Regions from separate parts of the Homo sapiens genome. Here regions 1, 3, 4, 5, 6 and 7 are each linked to region 2. Evidence: promoter capture Hi-C in 16 types of primary human blood cells and fetal thymus (Javierre and others, 2016). All regions are on one chromosome and are shown on one strand. The core of a region is centred on a gene start or on the middle of the fragment in contact, and the rest is flanking DNA. Distances in the headings are between cores, read along the strand shown.

Evidence for each region. The method cuts DNA at HindIII sites, captures the fragments that hold promoters and counts their contacts. A CHiCAGO score of 5 or more calls a contact.
Region 1: a fragment that was not itself captured here is called in contact with the fragment with the promoter of NTS in region 2 in 4 of 17 cell types (M0 macrophages, M2 macrophages, megakaryocytes and 1 more); the score reaches 6.8 in M0 macrophages.
Region 3: a contact is called between a fragment that was not itself captured here and the fragment with the promoter of NTS in region 2, in 1 of 17 cell types (megakaryocytes). The highest score is 5.7, in megakaryocytes.
Region 4: a contact is called between a fragment that was not itself captured here and the fragment with the promoter of NTS in region 2, in 8 of 17 cell types (megakaryocytes, erythroblasts, endothelial precursors and 5 more). The highest score is 27.7, in megakaryocytes.
Region 5: a contact is called between a fragment that was not itself captured here and the fragment with the promoter of NTS in region 2, in 7 of 17 cell types (megakaryocytes, erythroblasts, M1 macrophages and 4 more). The highest score is 12.6, in megakaryocytes.
Region 6: a contact is called between a fragment that was not itself captured here and the fragment with the promoter of NTS in region 2, in 6 of 17 cell types (fetal thymus, megakaryocytes, erythroblasts and 3 more). The highest score is 13.2, in fetal thymus.
Region 7: a contact is called between a fragment that was not itself captured here and the fragment with the promoter of NTS in region 2, in 1 of 17 cell types (erythroblasts). The highest score is 5.4, in erythroblasts.

What each region holds. Positions count from the first base shown.
Region 1 is chr12:85,515,156-85,518,363 of GRCh38, reverse strand. No RefSeq gene overlaps it. Among named protein-coding and RNA genes, the nearest start is that of LINC02820, 200 kb to the right of the region's middle. The HindIII fragment of the contact is 5,362 bases long and covers 1-3,208 here.
Region 2 is chr12:85,872,940-85,875,944 of GRCh38, reverse strand. NTS (neurotensin) reads right to left here and starts at 1,650. Exons shown (of 4, transcript NM_006183.5): 1 at 1,469-1,650. The coding sequence starts at 1,541. The HindIII fragment of the contact is 11,906 bases long and covers 1-3,005 here.
Region 3 is chr12:85,400,061-85,403,059 of GRCh38, reverse strand. The region is part of intron 3 of LINC02820 (long intergenic non-protein coding RNA 2820); the gene reads right to left. Among named protein-coding and RNA genes, the nearest start is that of LINC02820, 84 kb to the right of the region's middle. The HindIII fragment of the contact is 340 bases long and covers 1,459-1,798 here.
Region 4 is chr12:85,481,676-85,484,679 of GRCh38, reverse strand. All of the region lies in intron 4 of LINC02820 (long intergenic non-protein coding RNA 2820), which reads right to left. Among named protein-coding and RNA genes, the nearest start is that of LINC02820, 170 kb to the right of the region's middle. The HindIII fragment of the contact is 2,888 bases long and covers 168-3,004 here.
Region 5 is chr12:85,498,226-85,501,311 of GRCh38, reverse strand. No RefSeq gene overlaps it. Among named protein-coding and RNA genes, the nearest start is that of LINC02820, 180 kb to the right of the region's middle. The HindIII fragment of the contact is 6,193 bases long and covers 1-3,086 here.
Region 6 is chr12:85,439,022-85,442,355 of GRCh38, reverse strand. The region is part of intron 4 of LINC02820 (long intergenic non-protein coding RNA 2820); the gene reads right to left. Among named protein-coding and RNA genes, the nearest start is that of LINC02820, 120 kb to the right of the region's middle. The HindIII fragment of the contact is 6,428 bases long and covers 1-3,334 here.
Region 7 is chr12:85,378,213-85,381,135 of GRCh38, reverse strand. All of the region lies in intron 2 of LINC02820 (long intergenic non-protein coding RNA 2820), which reads right to left. Among named protein-coding and RNA genes, the nearest start is that of LINC02820, 62 kb to the right of the region's middle. The HindIII fragment of the contact is 2,154 bases long and covers 596-2,749 here.

The sequences.
Region 1 (3,208 bases), core at 647-3,146, 360 kb after region 2:
CTGGGTTTAACAACCAGCTTGTTAAATTTGTGAACATTTAACAATCAGCTCTTTTGAACCAGCATAAAGAACCTCTAATACGCCACTAAATTGGGTTTGCCACAGCTTTAAATGCAGGTCTTACTCTACATTAAGTTCCAATTTTAGAGTCCACAAGCAATAAAATATAGCATAGTCTAATTTTTCTGTTGAATTTCACAAGGGGAAAATGCAATATATTCTTCATTCTTTAATAGACAGTTGTATCATGATTGATCATTCCTGGTCAGGGATAAGTAGAAGTATTATATAAATCAAAAATGACCTCTTACTATAGAAATATTTTAAATTCTATGATATATGGTTAAATAATAAGGCTAAATATGTGCAAAAAAAGATAAGAAATAATTGTTTCTCTGTTAGTATTATCTAACAATGATAAATATCATGACAGGTGATATTTATCAAAATTGCTTGTATGCGGTTGTTAACACAAAACAATAAGTAATTACTAGATTTTTTAATCATGAAAAAGCTACCTACAAAACTAACTGCTAATCAAATTGAAAACTGTCTCTGTTTACTATGTAGTAGGACCATTAAATCCTATTCACGAACCAATGTGATGAAGTATAAACTATGAATGTGAAAAACAAGAAGTCTGTGGACAATTTTGTTTTCCTCCTGTGTACCACTGACATGGCTTGTTCACTCCTTGATTGACAGTAAAAAGAACTGTCTCTGATGTCATACTTAAAACACAAGCCAAAGGCAATGAGTGAAACTCCAGCATATTCTGATTCTCCCAAAGCCAGAATAATAATTAAGACCCAAAATGAATTTGAACGAGGAGATAACCACATTAGCCACACCTTAGTAATGGCATGGCAGCTATTTTATACTGAAGAGTGGTCTTATGATTTTTTTAATGATATAGCTCTCTAGCAGATTTTAACTTATTTTTGGCATAAGAAAAAAGATAGATGTCAAAGGTAGCAAAATGATGCATTTTTAAACACTATTTCTATTGTCCAGTTTTGTGTTTGATTTTATATGCAAAAGTTGCTACTCTTTAAGTCTAATATATCTTACAGTATGCAGGCTACTTTCATTAGAATCACAGGGTAGTGGGCAAAAGAGAGCAAGGCTTGATGCAAACATAGATACCTGGGCTCCACCCAAGGCGTACTTCTGAATCAGAACATTGAAGGTGTCCCTCCACTCCCCCTTCCCTCCATCATGGCTACTGGAGGTGATCCAAGCATGATTCACATTAAGAAGTAGTTTGTTTTCCTGAGCCTCACCACCTGCCATCTAGTTTAAGGTGTGACCCCTGTAATTCTGGTTTCTTTTTTGAGGGTTTGTCTTTTCCAGGATGACTGAAAATGAACATTTTCATTCCCTTCAGGGGAAATCTCAGGACTGTGAACCCATCACAACAATTATATCAGAACACAAGACACGACCTGGTACATTCAGGATTTTCAGACTTGCTTAACCTTAACACTTAGTCAGGGAGACTCAGTTCCAGGTTGAGCTGCATAGAAAGCCAGGCCACGTGTTACTAGGTCTTTCCCCAAAACAGTGCTACTTGTGCATTCCATACTTAGCCTTCTTTGGATAATCTCCATCACTCTGAACAAATAAAAACAAACTATATTTTATAGGCAGAATGTCATGTTAACTCATCAAAATAAAAATTTTTTCTCATTTTATAAAAAGCAACAGTCTGAGAGATTCATCCCAGACTCAACCACACATGATTTATATCATCAAAGGGACACAAAAATGGGGATTTTGCCATTTTCCACATGAATAAAGGATAGGACTTGCTTTACATTTCTGAAAATAAATAGAACATTTTACAGTGATTTTTTTCCCCATATAAAAGTCTCTTCTAAAGGTAATTCATACTTTTACTTCTTGGGAGAGAGAAAATTTATATTCTAGAAATGAGAGCATTTACTGATTGTACTCTTCAGAGTTAATATAAATGAATAGAGTTAGTTTCCATTAAAAGCAGACTTATACATAATATATATTTCAAAATATATATATGCAATCTTTATAGAATTAAGGTATGTACTCTTTTTAATTTAAAGATATGTATTCTTTTCTTATTCTCTTTTGCTGCATCAGCATTAATTTCATTAAGCATTATTACTAAAGATGATTCTAACAGTTTCATGCATTCATCTTTCATTTTAGAAATATTTCATAGACCTTCACTATATCTCCAATAGTGCAAGATTAATTGTAATAAAAATGGCATGTCCTTAATTTCAAAGAGTGAATAATTAATATTTCTGGTATCCTTTGAGCAGCTTTGGTGTAAAATTCAGGAACTACTCTTTTGGTTAATACAGTATTCAAATAAATGATTTACAGATTTAATACAAATATTTAGTGTTTCAGCATTTCAATTGTCTAACAAATACTGTATTGTTTATAGACCTCATAAAAACGTATGCCTTTAAACTTAAAATTAGAATACAGAATTATTCATTAAGTTACAAACTTTAAATTGGAAATTCAGAATAAATCTGTTAGCTACTCTAATGTGCAAAATTCTCTTAAACATTAATTCTACTTAAAATGTAAAACACAGATTACTCCTATAAGTAATGTAAAACACATTAGTTCTAAGGTTATTATTTAATTTATAATTTCTATATTTATTATAAATATTGATTTAGAATACGTATCCTACAATGCAAATAATTCTCATCCCAATCTATGGAAATGAGAATTTTCTATGCCAATGCATTGGGATTTTATTTAAATCATTAAAAATTCTAATCACATCACAGGATTTTTTTTATTTTGTCTGTAACTCTATGGGTGCACACCCAATCAATTTCTGTTATACAAACTAAGTCTCTAAAACTGAAAAAAAAGTTCGTGTCCTAGGATAAGCCATATTACTACCTAATTTTTCCAGTCTTTACTCAAAAAGTCTGAGCTCCCACTAGAATTTTTGCTACCTCCCTTTACTGCTTTATTTGCATTTCTTTAGTTCTCTTAATACATTTGTGTCTTTCCATGTCTGTATAGATTCATTAATGCTGTTTGACAGAGTCCTTCATATCATTATTATATAATCTGTTGATCTCCATCCCCCTCATTTAAATGTACACAATTCTGCAATATTTGTGTTTGTTTACTGTTTTTGCTGATTTCCTTTTTTTTTTTTTTTACCACATTTTCCCTATTTGATAGGGCCAAAACT
Region 2 (3,005 bases), core at 401-2,900:
TATTTTACAGAGAAGGAAAATTTGGAAAATACTATACAATAATAAAAATAAAGTTAAAAATGACTCTATCTTCCTTGTACTACACACTCAGTAAAAAGAAATGCCACAATTGGAGAACCCATTGGCTTAATTTTACCTAGAACCTAAATTATACAAGAGATCTTTTCTCACTATTTGTTAGAGACATAATCTGTTTTAGGAATTTATGAACAATGTATACCAAAATCCTTATAACTATTGCATTATTACAACAAGTAGTTTCAAGTTAATAAACACAGTGCTTAATCAATAACCCAGTTTTTCTTCCAGAAGTATGTGAATCTTTAATCTCATATAACTTTCAGATAAAATCATAATTATAGAAAAGTTTGTTTTTTCTCATAAGATTTAAAAAGTAGAAGCTGAAAGTTATGTTCTGATGATTAAAATAAATTTAAAATTTTGTATAAATCACATTTATATCTTCTTAGATTTTAATTTCATAATTTAAATCAAATGATAGCATGAGTTTGAGTTAAACATTTCCATGTCATATTTATGATACATAAAAGCACAGAACAGGTTAAATTATTTTTGCTGCATTTGCTTCCTAATGTGTTCTTTTCCCTTTGAAGTGTTCATTGTAATATTTCTTAAATATTAAGTAGAGCCTTTTGCAATGGTTGTAATATTTCATGTTATACCTTTCAATTTAAGTCTTATTTTCAAAGTGAGTTATTCGTAGATACTTAGGACTATATAACTTCTTTCAAACCACATGCAAAACACTCTAAAGTCAAATAATTTCCATCAATATAAGAATACCAATTTTCCAATTGTATTTTGTATTAACTTAAATGGCATGGAAAAAATGCCAAACAGTTATATTAATAGCACACTTATTAGACTATGCAAATTCTGTTCTCAAAAAGGATCTGGAATATTTTTGTATTTTTCTAGAAATAATTTTCTACAAATAATGCTTCATTTTTCACTAAGTATCAATTTTCACTTTATTTGTTATCTTAACACAAACAAGAAAATAATACGGGGACTATTACAAGGGCGTGAGGGCCACCGCTTCCTAAGAGAATGAATGAGGATGAGAGTAAAACATTTTGAATGGAATGGGATTTAATGATGGGTTTGCAGGTTGACAGCCACTGCCTCTGTATTTCTCATTAGATAATGATCAGCCTAATTGAAAGTTTTGTAGGGTTTTTTTCCCTCTAGTTGTTGAATTCCAAAGGAGGTCGTGCAGTGTTTCATTGAAATCCCTTTTATTGCTTTGCAGATTTTAAAAGAGAAAATACATCTCTCAGTAATCATAAAGGCAGAGAAAGAGATACTCAGTTTCTGTCACTAAAAGGTAAATCCTGAATAAAAGGGAGCAACTCTTCTCCCCAGATACATTAACATAAGTAGCAACACACTGCAAAAGAGAAAAAAGAAATCACTTCAGGGAGTTGTGAAATTCTGTTTTGCTTACCTGAGCACAGACTCCAGGAGCTGAAAGCCAGGAGTAGCATGCATACAAGCTGGATTTTCATTCCTGCCATCATCTTTCAGCCTTCTAACAAGCCAAGTCCGTAAAAGTCAGAAGCACACTGAAGGGGGCTCTCTCTAGCACTTCCTCTTTCCTTCAGCTGGCTTTGAAAGTGAGTGAACTATGAGAGGTGCTCTGGCCATTCCCCTATATATATAAGCAGGAGGATGATGTCATTGATTGTACAGACATTATCTTTGCAGGATGTGCCCTATCTTCACCTCCATCCCTCCCCTCTTTGCCCTGCTTTCTCCTCCCCTTTTCCTTTGTCCCCCCTGCTCTCCTCCCCCATTTCTGAACCTTGAGTGAAAGTGACGATCTTCCCTAATTGCTGCTGCTGCTGCTTTGGATTTCTGACGCACAGAAGGAGTCATTCAACTGCACTGACATACAGCATACATACAGCATACTGACAAAGAACCCCCAGTATCATCCTTTTCCCACTTCTCATTCCCCCACTCCAAAAGTTGTCATTTTGATTTTGTGAAACATGAGATCTGTTATTTCTAATTTTTAAGGAAAATCTCCAGGATGAATGCATGAAATCAGTGATTCCTTAGGCTTGGAAGTTCTTGAAGAGTTAGGGTGCTTCTCTGGTAATTCAAACTTCTGAGCAAATGTTTAGTGGTTCCAAAACTAATACAGGTTTTAAATAATCCATGCTGGAATAAGATGGAATAGAGACAGAGAATCAGTTATAAAAATTAAGCAATTAAGTTTAGAGAATAGAAAGAAAATCAATAAAAAGAAATAATAGATCCAGGGAATAAGATATTATTTCCTAACAAATAGAAAATATTTTATTGTAAGTAATGAGAGATGACTGAACTATGTGTGCTGACTTTTGGTTGAATGTATTAGAAAAACAATTTCATGTTTATAAAATCCAGCTCTAAATTACTTACATTCTAGCAGGTAAAAATTTGTGTTGTTGTATCACTGACTTTTTTTCTGTACATTATCTCTTTTTATGCCTATATTTTTCTGCTCTTTTTGAATTCATTCTTGATGCCATGTCTCACTCTTTGTATAATTCCCTTCTCAACAGTTTTTACTATTGCATCGGCTTTCTTTCCCTGTTATAATACTCTTTTCACCATAAAAAAAGAGATTGTACTTTTGGAAAGGAGACAATCCTAAATAACCACCATTCACCAAAGTCACTTTTCTATGATAGTCTTCATGTATTTCATGAGTTACACTGATACCCATTCTTTGTCTGAGTTCTCAAAAGAAAATTGTTCAAAATGCCTTTTAGAGTAAAACTTTCTTCTTGTAGTAAGCATTTCAAGATACATGGGGTAATTTGACAAGTCAGTGCTGTTAGAGATGTGAATATTTGAATGTAAAGTTGTCTGAGTCTTGTTTAATTTTTAAATAAATCAATCATGTAGTAACAGTTGAGAAAAAATAGGATTGGTTCCTATAGATAATTGATTTATATTATACAATCTATGAGTTTAACTTTTTCACCTTTACC
Region 3 (2,999 bases), core at 379-2,878, 470 kb after region 2:
ATTTTCTCCCATTCTGTAGGTTGCCTGTTCACTCTGATGGTAGTTTCTTTTGCTGTGCAGAAGCTCTTTAGTTTAATTAGATCCCATTTGAAAAAGTGGGCGAAGGATATGAACAGACACTTCTCAAAAGAAGACATTTATGCAGCCAACAGACACATGAAAAAATGCTCATCATCACTGGCCATCAGAAAAATGAAAATCAAAACCACAATGAGATATCATCTCACACCAGTTAGAATGGCGATCATTAAAATGTCAGGAAACAACAGGTGCTGGTGAGGATGTGGAGAAATAGGAACACTTTTACACTGTTGGTGGGACTGTAAACTAGTTCAACCATTGTGGAAGTCGGTGTGGCGATTCCTCAGGGATCTAGAACTGGAAATACCATTCGACCCAGCCATCCCATTACTGGGTATATACCCAAAGGAATATAAATCATGCTGCTATAAAGACACATGCACATGTATGTTTATTGCGGCACTATTTACAATAGCAAAGACTTGGAACCAACCCAAATGTCCAACAATGATAGACTGGATTAAGAAAATGTGGCACATACACACCATGGAATACAATGCAGTCATAAAAATGATGAGTTTTTGTCCTTTGTAGGGACATGGATGAAGCTGGAAACCATCATTCTCAGCAAACTATCGCAAGGACAAAAAACCAAACACCACATGTTCTCACTCATAGGTGGGAATTGAACAATGAGAATACTTGGACACAGGAAGGGGAACATCATACGCCAGGGCCTGTTGTGGGGTGGGGGGAGGGGGGAGGGATAGCATTAGGAGATATAACTAATGTAAATGACGAGTTAATGGGTGCAGCACACCAACATGGCACATGTATACATATGTAACTAACCTGCACGTTGTACACACGTACCCTAGAACTTAAAGTATAATAAATATATATATATATATATATAAAGAATAGCCTGCTCCAGCCAACATTAGTAATTCCCTCTTGTCAAGTCTACTGTGTACACTGCTGCCAAGTTATCTCTGTTTAGATTATCTTTCTTTCCATCTCTGTTTGGTTAAATAATATTTAAGACTTTGTGTTGTCACAATATCACAATTCCATTTTCTTGGGATTTTACTCATTCTTTTAGAGCTGACTCCAGTGAAGTGTTATTCACAAGCTTTCTGCAGACTCCATTCAGAAGGGATCTCACTGTCTTCTCAGAGCATTTGCCTCCTTCCTGGCTTACGACATATCCAGTTTGAACCCATATCTTCTTTAAAATTACTTAGGCATGGCCTCATATACCTTCTAGATTTTAAACTGCTCCAGAGGCCATGAATACTATCTACCAACTCTAACACCTTTCCTAAGTATTTTTGTCAAAATTCTGTCTCAATTTTTACAAACTTTACTTGTTGAACCGTATTCACTGTATATTAACTGCCTTACTTTACAAAATGAAGCACCGATGCCTAGCAAGCTTAAACTACCCGCTCAGGGGCCACATACTGACCTTGGTATAAGGTCAGTTCACTTTTTCTTCCCATTCTACCACAGTAAATACAGATAATAAATAATCACATATTTGATTAACAGAGAAGAATATAAATATTTTAAATGGTAAAGAATAGTGTCTGACTTTATAGTATCCCAAATCAACAATGCTGTCAGTTCTTGAAAAAGGTATGCATTACCAAATTATGTTGATAAATATATATACCTACCCAGTTGTACCCTAAGAAAACCAGTAGCATCTATTTTGTAAAATTACTTGCAAAATATAGTTTTATCATTTCACTTTCTAACTTTTTTAACAAAAGCTTTATTGAAGTGTAAATGACATAGAAAAATGCACATATTTACACAATTTGATAGGTTTTGATATATATTTACACCCATAAAAGCCTAACCACAACCAAGATTGTGAATATATCCATCACCCTCAGTAGTTTTCTCATGCCTCTTTTTAATCCTTCCATCCTCAGCCTTCCAGTATTTGCCTCACGCAAACCCCAGCAACCACTATTCTGCTTTCTGTCACCATAGAAGAGTTTTCATTGTTTTGATGTTTTATAAAATTGGTCTATATACCCTATACTTGTGTTTTCTGACCTCTTTTACTCAGCATAATTATTTTGAAATTCATTCATTTCATTGCATTTCTCAAAAGTTCATTCTTTTGTATTGCCGTAAATAGTATTACGTTGTATGGGTATACCACAGTTTGTTTCTCCATGCACCTGTCGATGGAAATTTGAGTTGTTTTCAGTTTTTGGTTATTAAAATAGAGCATCTAAGAACATTAATGTACAAGTTTTTATATGCACATATGCTTACTTTCATGTGGGTAGCTACCTAGTAGTGTAATAGGCAGATCATATATCTGTACGTGTAGCTATTTAAAAAATTGCCCCAAGTATTTTCCAAAGTGGTTTTACTATTTTCCCACTATTTCCAGCAGTGTATGGGAGTTTGAGATCTTCCACAGCCTTGACTCAACTTACTTAATTTAATTAGTCTTTTGAATTTTAGCCATCATGAAGTGTACACTAGTTCACCTTTTAATTTTTAAAACACCGACTATGTGCCAGGCATTGGCAGTGGGAATATAATGCTTAATAATATGTCCCTTCTTTCACAGATGTGACAGTCAATGAGAAAATAATAATCAAACTCATAACTTCAAGTACAATGTGGTAAACCCTTCAATACAGGTACAGAGAAATTCTTTTAGAAACATAGGGAAGTGAAGTCAAAGAAAGATTATGGAAAACTTTTAAAGATTTAGAATTAGAAAGATACCTTGACTCAGCTAGATATGAAAAAGTAAAGATGCAAACGCATAAAAGATGATGGCATTTTTAGAGAAGGGGAAAGACGTATGTGGATAGTCCATTAGTAGTGAGGATATAGTTGGTCAGAATGGTAGAGAGTAGATTTCAAAATAATTTACCTACCCTGCTATGGAGGTTGAGTATTTTTGAGGCTGAGGACAGACATTTCCAGATCTGTGCTTTTAAAAA
Region 4 (3,004 bases), core at 362-2,861, 390 kb after region 2:
TTTTCTCAGGGAGGAAATAACTTGAGTGGCATGAAGGGTACACATCAGAGAGTATCACAGACCTGAAACAACTAGAGGATGTGCAACTGTATAGCTATTCTTGGTCCTAGCACGAACAAGGTCCTTTGCTGCATCAGTGGGAGTGAACAGATCATTCTGAAAAAGCTTGTATAGAGTTACATTATCTTGAAGTTTTTGCAGGGGGTTTCAGACTCATAGGCCCTCTACAGTCTCTCTTACTTTATTTACTCTTACTCTTCAAGTAGTACTTGGGAGTATCTTATTTGAAGATGCTCTTTAAAAGTTAGGAGGTGCCAAGGTAAGGTTCAAAGGATAAACACAGCTCTTCAGGTCTGACTCTTGTGTGAACTTTTGATGTAAGATGATAAAAAAATTGTGGGGTTGATTGAGGAGTTAGTGCTACTTATTCTTTTAAAAAAACTGTAAGTCATACCTTTAGTTATACTTATACACACTTATATATAAGCAATACTTATAACATGTATTTGATGTCTGCTTAATAACCTATGATATAGGTACATTATTATTATTCTCATTTCACAGGTGAAGAAAAAGAAGTATAAAGACATTAAATAAGTTTTTTAAGGGGTTACAACTAGTAGGTAGCTGAGCCAAGATGCAAACCCAGACTGGATCCCACTGTAGCATTCTTGGACATTATGCTACTGGAAGGATAATACCCCTATGTTAAAAGACAATTAATAAATTATTGCTATATAATCAAGCAATTTTCCAGGAATTTGGGATTTCCTTGTTGCCTATCCCCTATCAATGAGGTAGGAAACTTGAGTTAAATTTGGTATAAGTGCACAAACAAGGAAAAGAGTTTACGCATATTACATATTACATAGTTTTTACCTTTGCTATATTTCTTAGAAACCTAAAATTCAAAGAAGCAATTTATATAAATTTGAAATTTCTTGTTTTTAGTTAAATTCTGATTGTATTAATATTTTCCAGTGAGTCCTAATGCCATAATATACCCTATGCAAAAAAAGAGGGTTTACTTTTGTCAAGCAAATTTTGGGAACTGGTAGGAACTCCATTCACCTTTTGGAGCTTCTCAGGACATCTCAAATGTTAAAGGCTCTATGAGATCCTGCGGTGAGGTTTAGTGTTGTTCACTTCATCATTTCCCAGACTTCTTTGAGCAAGCGTTCTTTGGTTGTCTATGTAGCTGTTGTTTCTTAGATACCCCTATTCAAGTTTTGTGTAGCTACTTGTTCAGTGGAACACTCCATAGTAAATTCTGGATTGCTCAAATTAAAGTGGGGAATGAGGACAGCCATTTTACTCCTCTCACATTCTACAAAGAGTTGGAATCTCACAGATTTTCTCACTGTATGAAAGCACATGCAGTCTCTGGAATTGGGCAGAGTTTCCATGGTAAATTATTTCTTTCAAGCCTCTTTAAAGAAGGTATTCGGCATCTCCTTTGTTGACATTAAACAATATCACTTTCCAATTTCTATGCAACAGCAGTTTACTGTTGTCAGTTTAGAGTTATTTTGCATTATAAATGTTTCTCTGGTTCCTGTTCACTTTTAATAGAGAATTTTAGTCTTTATTAAACACACTTGTGTAATGTGTTTTAATTATAACATTCAATTTAATTTTGATGGCTTCAAATTATATTGAAAAGGCAAGAAAAGAACTTTGCATTTTTTATGTTTCTTTTTAGCTGGCTGGCTGATTGGTTCAGTATTAATTGATACTTTAGCCAAACAGAATAAATACTAACAAGCTCTTTCTGTTGTCAAACAGCTGTTATGATGATGGCTTAACTACTAATGGCAGATTTTCTACCATCAAATACAGACTCATTATACTTTGTACCATTAACAAATGCTTGTCAATATCAAATTATCTTAGATCTCTGAACATGTTGTGCTTAATCATTATTCTGATATTTCAGACAAGCAGATTATTTTTAAAATTGGCAGTGGTGTCAAACAGCAAGTTCATTATCTTAGAAAAATAATTATATCAGCACTATAGAAGGTCATTTGTTAACTTTCTGTCTAGAGAGATAAACATTTGTAAGATCCCAAACCAGCAGATCAAGATTTTTAGTTTTAATGTGTGACCTATAAATCCCACTGAGTAGCTCCACCTCATCCTTTTTTTTCTTTCTTATTATTATTCTTAACTTTACACATTGGAGGTTCTAGACTCTTCAGGTTCTTGCAAGAATGACAGTTTGGTTCTTCTATTAAGGGTCTTATCTCACAGTACAGGAACTAAATCTCATGTCATTTCCCATATTTACATTGTATTATCAAGAGAGTTTGGGAAGAGGATGGAAAGTGTGATCGATGTAAATGAACAACCATTATTTCAAGTGATATTTTTTCTTCTCTATTAAAAAAATGACGGTTAGAAGTAAAGCAGTTGAAAATATAAATTTTTATATGCTTTTCTAAGATATTCAATCCAATAGCATTTCCTTTCTTGTAAGTATTGTCGTTAAAAGTGTAGCTACACAGATGGCTATTAAGATGGCAGAAATGAATGAGACTTCCACTTGAGAATACTTGTGTTTGAAGGATTAACACAAGGCAAAGGAATAATGGAAGAGTTAATGTTTTGTCCTCTTAGGAAAGCAAATAGATGACTAAATATTATGAATACTTCAAGGCAAGGGATGTATGGACAGCATAGATTCCTTAAGAAGTCTATTACAGTACCTCAATGAATTTTGGATAATAGATTAATAAAGTTTAGGACCTAGAACTTAGGATAACTTAAAAAACATTTATAGGGTAAATATCTATGGATGGAAAAAAAAGAGAGTTTCATTCTGAATCATTTTTGTTCCAATCTAAAGTGCTAACATAACCAGTTTTTCTGCCAATGTAAAACATATATTTTATTCTCCTTCTCCTCCTTTAGTTGTAATTACTTCCTTCTTCCATCGAGTTTAGTAATGAAAAGAGCATTACTTTTGGAGACAGACAGACCAAATATTTTCTTACACTTCAGT
Region 5 (3,086 bases), core at 364-2,863, 370 kb after region 2:
ATATGTTTGCTTTGTTGTAGTCTATTTTAATTAATTATTTTTCAGAATAATTAGTACATGTTAATTTCATTTAACCTAATACTTGTATGATACAAAGCTGAATAAGATAGTTGTGCTTACATGTTGATAAAAATTTGATAGCCAAATTGGAATAGCAGGTAGTACAATTGTAGTATGCTATTCGGTTGAGTGATTGCAAAGTTAAAAATTATTTCCTTGCAATTATGGAATATGAGTTTGGAGACCACAGTGAAACAACATACTGAAGGCCATTCATGTAATACTTTGGAGGCCCATTCAACTCATTACGTTTCATGCATCATTAGTGAAAAATTGGCAATATGCTGTATGCTTTCTAATATAGAGGAATAAAAACTGTGGAGAAGGAAATGATTCAAGAGATCATTAGTGAACACCTCCAAACTGAGTCAAGTTTCAATTCCACTTCTTTGGGGAAAAATATTACAAGCCAATATGGGGTGGGAAAAATGTAATGTAAGTTAATAAACCATAATCTATATTTTTAAAACGAACTGTAAAACTTGCTTATGGTTTAAGTTTTCTTCAGAAGAAAACTTCAAAATAAATATTCATTGAACAACTGTAATGATTACAGACAGTGGCTTTTCCTTCTAGTAAATTTAATGATATTATTGTATAAAGCAACATAATAGTAATTTACCCCCAAACTTTTTTTTTTTTTTTTTTGAGACCGAGTCTCGCTCGTCGCCCAGGCTGGAGTGCAGTGGCGCAATCTCGGCCCACTGCAAGCTCTGCCTCCCGGGTTCATGCCATTCTCCTGCCTCAGCCTCCTGAGTAGCTGGGACTACAGGCACCTGCCACCACGCCCGGCTAATTTTTTTGTATTTTTAGTAGAGACGGGGTTTCACCGTGTTAGCCAGGATGGTCTCGATCTCCTGACCTCGTGATCTGCCCACCTCAGCCTCCCAAAGTGCTGGGATTACAGGCGAGCCATCGCGCCCAGTCACCCCCAAACACTGTAACTGATTTACATTTATAAATGAGGGATGAAATATCACTCAATAAAACCAATGAAGATGCCAGCAACTCACAATCCAGATCTGATTTCCAACACAGTGACCATTCATTGCAAGGGTATTGTATTCTCAGAGGAAACAGATTAGTTTTTCATTATCTCTAAAACATATAAAATCATTTTAATTTCAGTTATATGTCAAAGAAAAATGCAAAAAGAAATTTAACTTTAAATCATGGCCACTATATTCATGTATTGTTTTCACAAAACATACTATTTCCATGAACAAACACTGAAAACACAGCGCACTGAGAGAAACACAAACAAGATTTTAGACAGCTCTGTATATAGTTCTAATTATCATTTGGCAGTACTCTAAAATTTAATATAAATTGTATACATATATATATACACACACACAGACACACATATATAAACTTATATGCCATCTCATCTGTTGCCCAACATTGCCTTCTAAAAAGAGTTGACAGCAGTAACTTTCTTGAGCTGCTCCTAATCAATTTGAAACTTTTTCTCCTGTTCTTACTTTTCAGAGGCATTGATATATTTTTAATGAAATATTATACCTTTCTGTTTCTCATTTCCATTCTGTGTTTTTCTGACCTTCACATTTCTTAAACTGACCCTTTTATATGAGATGTATACACACTGAGCTGAACAGCAGCTTTCAAGAGATATCATCCTTGGTGATCAAGATATTTAAAAGGAAAGCATATTTAAGAAATTCTCAGTGCTAAACTTTACATGTAGCAAATACCTTTTAGGCACCCAAGGCTGTATCATTGTATCAAGATGTTAGGATGCGTCTTCTAGGATTTTCTGTTGGTTTCACCGTTGCCCCTTAAGTTACGGATACAACTTATTCTAACAAATTACATAATGATAACAGAACTTTATGAAGATTAATTCACATAATTTTTCATAATCTGTATATAATCAATTTAATTATCCATTTATTCATATATTCATTCATTCCAATTTTAACCAATCATCTATTATTTTTCATATAGATATTTGCGTATTGCCTACCCGTGTACTTGACAATGTAGAAGGCACTACATGTTTCCATCCTACAAGTGTTTGCTCTACCTTAGAAATCCAGTTCTATGAAACTGTCTTCTAAGACATGCCTACTCTACCTCTCCTGTCTTTGCTCATGTATTTTTCCAAGTCTCTTCCAACTGATTTCTTCATTCTTTAAACTATGAAATATTTTTTTCTTATTGCTGGCCTCATCCTGCATAAAGTATTCTTTATTCGATAAGGAAGACTTCTTTTGTCTTTCCAGTTATATTATAAACCCATGGAGGACTTATCTCTTTCTTTTTGACATCTCGAGCAGTACTACAGAACAGCAGTGGTATGATAGGCTGAATAATGGCTCCCTAAGATGTCTACACTTTAAACTCAAGAATATGTGACTGTTACCCTATGTAACAAAAATAACATTGCAGATGTGATTAAGTTAAAGATTTTGAGATGAAAAGATTATTCTGGATTGTTTGCATGGGCCATAAGTATAATCACAAAGAGAAAATATTATAAGAGGTAGGTAGATTTGACAACAGTAGAGAAACCAATGTGACCACAGAAACAGAGAATGGAGTGATGTAGCCAGGAGTCAAGGAAGGATAGAATCCCCTAAAAGTAGAAGAGTCAAGAAGCAGATTCTCCCTTGGAGTCTCGGAAAAAACAGCCTTGTTCTAAGCCCATACATTTTATTTTAAATTTCTAGGCTCCAGAACTGAAAGATAATAAATTTGTGCTATTGTAAGCCTTTAAATTTGTGGTAATTTGTTACAGTGGCAACAGCAAACAGATGCAACTGGGTATATCATAGCCATTTAATGGTTACTAATTCAGTCTTTGGGCTTTTGTCCACAAGAGGGACTTTTGGTAACTACTCTTCCATGACTCTGGAAATAACAATAAATTCTTCACCATCTACCTATTTAATTTGAAATAAAAGGAATATGGCCTACTTAGTTAAAAGGCATAATAATATACTTCATATTAAAAAGGATATTTTTCTTAAACTATTTCCCAATTGTCCTGATTATATTTATTT
Region 6 (3,334 bases), core at 334-2,833, 430 kb after region 2:
TAGTAGAGACGGGGTTCCACCGTGTTTGCTAGGATGGTCTCGATCTCCTGACCTCGTGATCTGCCCGCCTCGGCCTCACAAAGTGCTGGGATTACAGGCGTGAGTCACTGTGCCTGGCCTGGTAAGTCTATTTTATCTCTACATATGCCCACCTATTTAGATTTATTAAAAACTCTTCTCATGTCACATTGAGAATTTAACACTATTACAAGTGTCATATACAGCTTCAAACCCAACAGTGACTCAAATCTGGTTGTTTTTTATCTATAAGAGCATGTAAACATAGTTGCCCAGCTTCACCCTCCCAGTATTTCACTAAGTAGCTCAAAATCATCTGGGAATAACTTTTTTTTCCTCTAACTTCTCTCCCTTAACTCTAGATCAGCCCTCTGGACTATCCATTAGGTGGCACTGCAAATCTCTGGATAGTTGTCTTGTCCTCCTAGAGTCAGATTAATCTTGTTTTATTTTCCAGTTAAATATGAGTTAATATAATCACCTGGAAATTAGGAGATTGTTGGAGGTTTGTACAGAGGGAAAAATGTGTGTCATAATGCTCTGAGAGAATGAGTGGGAAAGAAAATATTCCGAGAAAATATAATGGAATGATTTGTCAGTTTTAGTACACATTTGAGATTTACAGTAAAGGAAAGGCAAAAAGTCAGCCCTGGTGTGTCTGAGTACATGTATCTCATGAATGTGTGTTTGTGTGAATGTGGGTGTGTGTTTCAGTCCCATTCATCTGCATAGGTATAGTTGTAAAATATGCAGCTCGTTGGATAGTCGCTTTATTATGATGGGCCATGATACTAAACATTTTCTAAATATTATTTGAACATTTGTGGTTTTTGGCCATGAATTTAAAATAGAAGCCCTTGGATTATGGTTGCTTTTTCTCTGATCCCACAATGGTTACATGAAATTTTCTTGGTTTATTCAGACTGCTATAACAAAATACCTTACCCTGTGTAATTTATAACTACAGAAATTTATTGCTCACAGTTCTAGAAGATGGGAAATCCAAGATCAAGGTGCCAGCAGATTTGGTGTCTGGTGAGGGCCTGTTTCTTATAGACAGTGCCTTCTGTGTTTCCTTGCATGGCGGAACAGGCAAAAAAGCTCCCTGGCGTCTCTTTTATAAGGGCACTCATCCCATTTATGAGGGCAGAGTTCTTATATCATAATCACTTCCCAAAGTCACCACGTTTTAATACTGTTGCACTGCAGATTAAGTTCCAACTTATGAATTTTGGGGAGACACACATTAAGACTACAGCAGCAATTCAATCAGCCACTAGTTGTAGAGAATTATCCTAATTATTGATCATAGAATATAAATCGTGCCCATAGATGATAAAGGCATGATGGGTTGAAACATATTGAAAAAGTAATGGGATAAGTAGATTGTAAACCTCAAACGAACTTATACAATTTTTGGAGGGGGGTGCTAAAATATATTTTATAAAAGAGTAGGACATAGGTCAGAGAAAAAAGTACTTGAAATTAACATATCAAGAAGGACGGCAATTATTGGTGATAACTTGTTCAAGAGTATTGCCTAAGACTTCCCTTAAGGTTTTCATAAATTAAACTATCTGGACCCTGTGTGCAACAGATTCATCCAATTGCAACATCTTTTCATCTATACAGCTTTCTTATGTGCAAGTGTACCAGAAGAAATGTTATCACATGATAAAATTAGTATATTCTTATAAGAATTCTGAAATACAGTGAACATCAGAAAAAGAAAATTATCTTAGTTTGACATACTTTGGTTGTGAAATGATTCTCCAGGCTTCTTGCATTTCTGCACCTCCTAGGAGAGAGGCATTCACTGCCTCTTGTTTCTGGCAATCTTATCAAGAGTATTTGTATAGCAAACAGTCTTGAAAGATAACAGTACTTTTCTCTCTTCAGAGCAAAGGGCAAGTTTGTTTACCGCCCTGAGTAAAAGATTGTAGTTCTCTAAGGTAGTAATTTCTCTTTTATATGTAAGCCATTGTATTTTCAGGTATCATTTGGGCTTGTCAAATCACCTCAGGAGTATTGAGGCAAAATAAATTTATGAAAATATGTTGATGTTCAAATTGCTTGCTCTGCCATGAGAAATATTTTTCTTGATCTCTAACCTAGGAGTCTCATATCTTCTGCCAACATCTATGAAGTTGTGGCAGGCTCACTTGCTAGCTTGCAAGTAGGGCAATATTTCAGATCCATTGCAACTCTAGACAAACTTTATTCCAGGTGATTTTATAATATTTTCTAGTGATCAATGATTATAAATGATTACAATTTTAGAAATTCATCAATTAATGTCAGGGTGTTGGAGCCAAGATAATTAACTAGAAGTAGCTAATGTGCATTGCTTCATGAAGAAAAGAAAGAGTGGTGAGTAAATACTAGTGTCTCAAGTAGGTCATCCAGCTGGGCATGTTGGGATTCATCAAGGAAGCAAGGTGGCCCATGGAGAACAGACAAAAGCAAGACAGGACAGCCACCCACCCAGGATTGGTGTGGAGTCAGGGTAGGCTCCCCACCATAGTGAAGTAGTGAGTGAGTGAGAGCCTCCAGGAACCACTTGTGCTGTGGACCTTTGCAATCCTGGGCTCAGGAGATCCCCCATGACTCTTACTAGAGCCTCCAGACTGACTCCAGACTGACAAGACAAGGATGCCCACTCTCACCACTCACCACTCCTATGCAACATAGTACTGAAAAGTCCTAGTCAGAGCAATCAGGCAAGAGAAAAAAATAAATGGGTCAAAATAGGAAGAGGAAATCAAACTATCTCTATCTGCAGATGATAGGATTTTATACCTAGAAAACTTTTAGTCTCTGACTAAAAGCTCCTAGATCTGATAAACAACTTCTGCAAAGTTTCCGGATCCAACACTAATGTACAAAAGTCAGTAGCATTTCTACACACCAGTAAAGTCCAACATGAGTGCCAAATCAAGAAAAACCCCCACAATATCTACAGAAAAGATAAAATACCTAGGAATACAGCTAACCAGGGAGATGAAAGTTTTCTACAATGAGAATTAGAAAGCACTGCTCAAATAAATCAGAGATGACACAAACAAATGGAAAAATATTCCATGCTCATGGATAGGAAGAATCAACTTTGTTAAAATGACATACTACCCAAAGCAATTTCAAGACTAAATGCTACTCCTATTAAACTATCAATCACATTCTTCACAGAATTGGGAAAAAAAACTAACTATTCTAAAATTCACATGGAACACAAAAAAAGAGCCCAAATAGCAAAAGCCATCCTAAGCAAAAAGAACAAAGTCAGGGGCATCACATTATGCAAATTCAAACTAAACTA
Region 7 (2,923 bases), core at 423-2,922, 490 kb after region 2:
TGTTTTAAAGTGAAGACTGCATCTTCAATCCTGGGCAAACACAAACTTTTTAATTCATAGTGTTGAGACAACTTTGTGCTGATCATAATCCAAACTCCATAATCCAAAATGTTGAAATCCCCAAAGTCAAAATCCCTAAAATCTAAAATCCCTGATGTCTAAAATCCAGACAATACTGAAACATTAAAACCCTAAGTGTTAAAATCCTGAAAGCTGAATTCTGGGGAAGAAATTAGTGCATTTTTCAGTTGTGTGAAAGACAGTTGCATGGACTTAATTTTTGGTGTTAACTTGACTGGATTAAGGAATATCTAGAAATCTGGTAATGTATTATTTTGGGTGTGTCTGTGAGGATGTTTCCAGAAGAGATTAGCATCTGAGTGTAAGTAAATTAGGTGGAGAAGATCTGCCCTCAGTGTTGATGGGCACCATCTAATAGGCCATGGGCCCTGAGAACAAATTCAGAAGACAAATTGGTCCCTATCTCTGAGAGCTGGGACAGACTTTTTTTCTGCAGCCTTGGACATGAGAACTCCAGACTCACCGGCCTTTGGACTCCGAGACTTACACCAGTGGCTCCCCAGGTCCCAAAGCTTTTGGCTATACCATCAGCTTCCCTGGTTCTCAGGCCTTCAGACTTGGACTGAGCCATGCTGCTGGCATTCCCAGGTCTCCAGCTGGCAGACAGCTTGTCATGGGACTCTCAGCCCCATAATTGTGTGAACAAATTATCATAATAAATCCCTTCTCATATATTTATATACATATCCTAATGCTTCTGTCTCTGTGAAGAACTCTGACTAACACAGATGTGGTATTAGGGAAGCTAAGTGTTACTCCTTTTACTGTATACAACACAATGAAAGAGATCTGTGAAATTATTCCCTCACAAAAAGGCTGTGATAATGGCGTAATGATAAAAGTTTAAAAGCTAACTATTATAGGTACTGCATGTGAAAGCAGAAAATTGCTTGTGATATCTGAGCAATAACCAGATTTTCAAATGCACAGCATACACTTATGGAATGTATGGACCACAACCACTCTCCAAACACAAGTGCAGAGTATTTTGAAGATCATAGAGGTGAAAACACAGGTGAAAAATGCTTGAAATCTCCTCTACCAAGTAATTTGATAGTGTACTTCTGTACCGTAATGCCAGTTTGCTGTTATATATTTAATCATTACATCATTGTTTAAAAACTTTTATATTTTCTTCTTCAAATTTGACTCCACAAAAATGCATTATCACAATGTTCACTTCATGTGTAAGCATTGTGAGTGAATATAAAAACTCTGATCCTCAATACATGAAGATATATCTTACTTTGTATATCTGCATTTGTGAAAGAAAAAATTTTTTCAAGATCTCAGCTCTTTGGGCAACTGCATACTTTGTTGGGACCCATTGCAGTATTTGATAGATCTTGTCAAAAGACTCAGTGTGTCCATCATAGTATTTTACATGACCACAGTTAAAAAGTTGGGTGCACACAATTGCCAACCATAGTGATATATGTTTATGCATTTTGCTTTTCGACCTATTTCTTTATAAATATGGTTGATTTATAACTGTTATATTTGTGTGACTTGTTAGTATATATTAGTGTTTATGCTTGCAAAAATATGTGTCCTGTTATTGTATGTCTTATTGTGTAAAGTAGCTGATGAAGTATCCTCTCATGTTCTTATATGTTTTCAAATAAACCCCCCCCCCTTTTTTTTTTTTGAGACGGAGTCTCGCTCTTTTGCCCAGGCCGGACTGCAGTGGCACTATCTCCGCTCACTGCAAGTTCCACCTCCTGGGTTCACGCCATTCTCCTGCCTCAGCCTCCCGAGTAGCTGGGACTACAGGTGCACGCCACCACGCCCAGCTAATTTTTTGTATTTTTAGTAGAGACAGGGTTTCACCGTGTTAGCCAGGATGGTCTCGATCTCCTGGTCTCGTGATCCACCCGCCTCAGCCTCCCAAAGTGCTGGGATTACAGGCCTGAGCCACCGCACCCAGCCCTAAACCCCATTTTTAAAATGTAAATAATGTCTTTGATATTTTCGTCTCCAAAATTATATTTTCAAGGTCTGATGTTTTGGGATTTTAGACATAAGGAATTTTGATCTTTGGGGATTTTAACATTCAGGATTATGGCATTCAGGTTTTTGTCTTTCAGATTACGATCCAAACCCAGTTTGAGTTTACAGCATGGTGGCTGGCTTACCCAGAGCTAGCATTCCAAACAGTATGGGTCAAGTGGAAGCTACGTCTTTTTTATGACCTACTATTCGAAGTCATACAATATCACTTCTGCCTTACTCTTCTGGTTGAAGTAGTTAAAAGTCTGATCCAGATTTAAAGGGAGGAAACAGTCTACACTTTTCCTGCCAGCTTTTCCATATAATTTTGTATGCTAGTTGACATTGTTAATTAGCCATGGGTAGTTAATATTTGACAGCATTTGCCAAATATATCCAAATTTACTTTTTTCTTTTCTTCCTTTTTTTTCTTTCTTGATAGAAGTGTCTATTAATATCTTAAGGAGCAAAGTTTGAGAATTTCTATTCTCTATATTAAAATGTCATGTTGATAAAATGTTCAGCCAGCAGCAACCTTGGAATGATACATTTTGTGGTTATTTACTTAAATTGAAGATAAAATATTGTGGTATTCCTTCAATGTGTCCTTAGTAGAACTTTATAATCTGCCAACAATAACAACAGATCATTTTTAAAGCCCCTAGACTAGGAATAAGCTTGCTTTCTACGTTGTGTTTGAATTCTCCCCCTTGGCAACCTGTTTTTACTTCCTACAACTAAGGCACCATGCTAACCTTTCCAAAGAAGGTCTGTTTCCTAAAATATGCAAGAGGTACAGGTATGGTCTACTTGTGGCTAAGGTAACCAGGAAAAATTCACTGAAAACAATGTG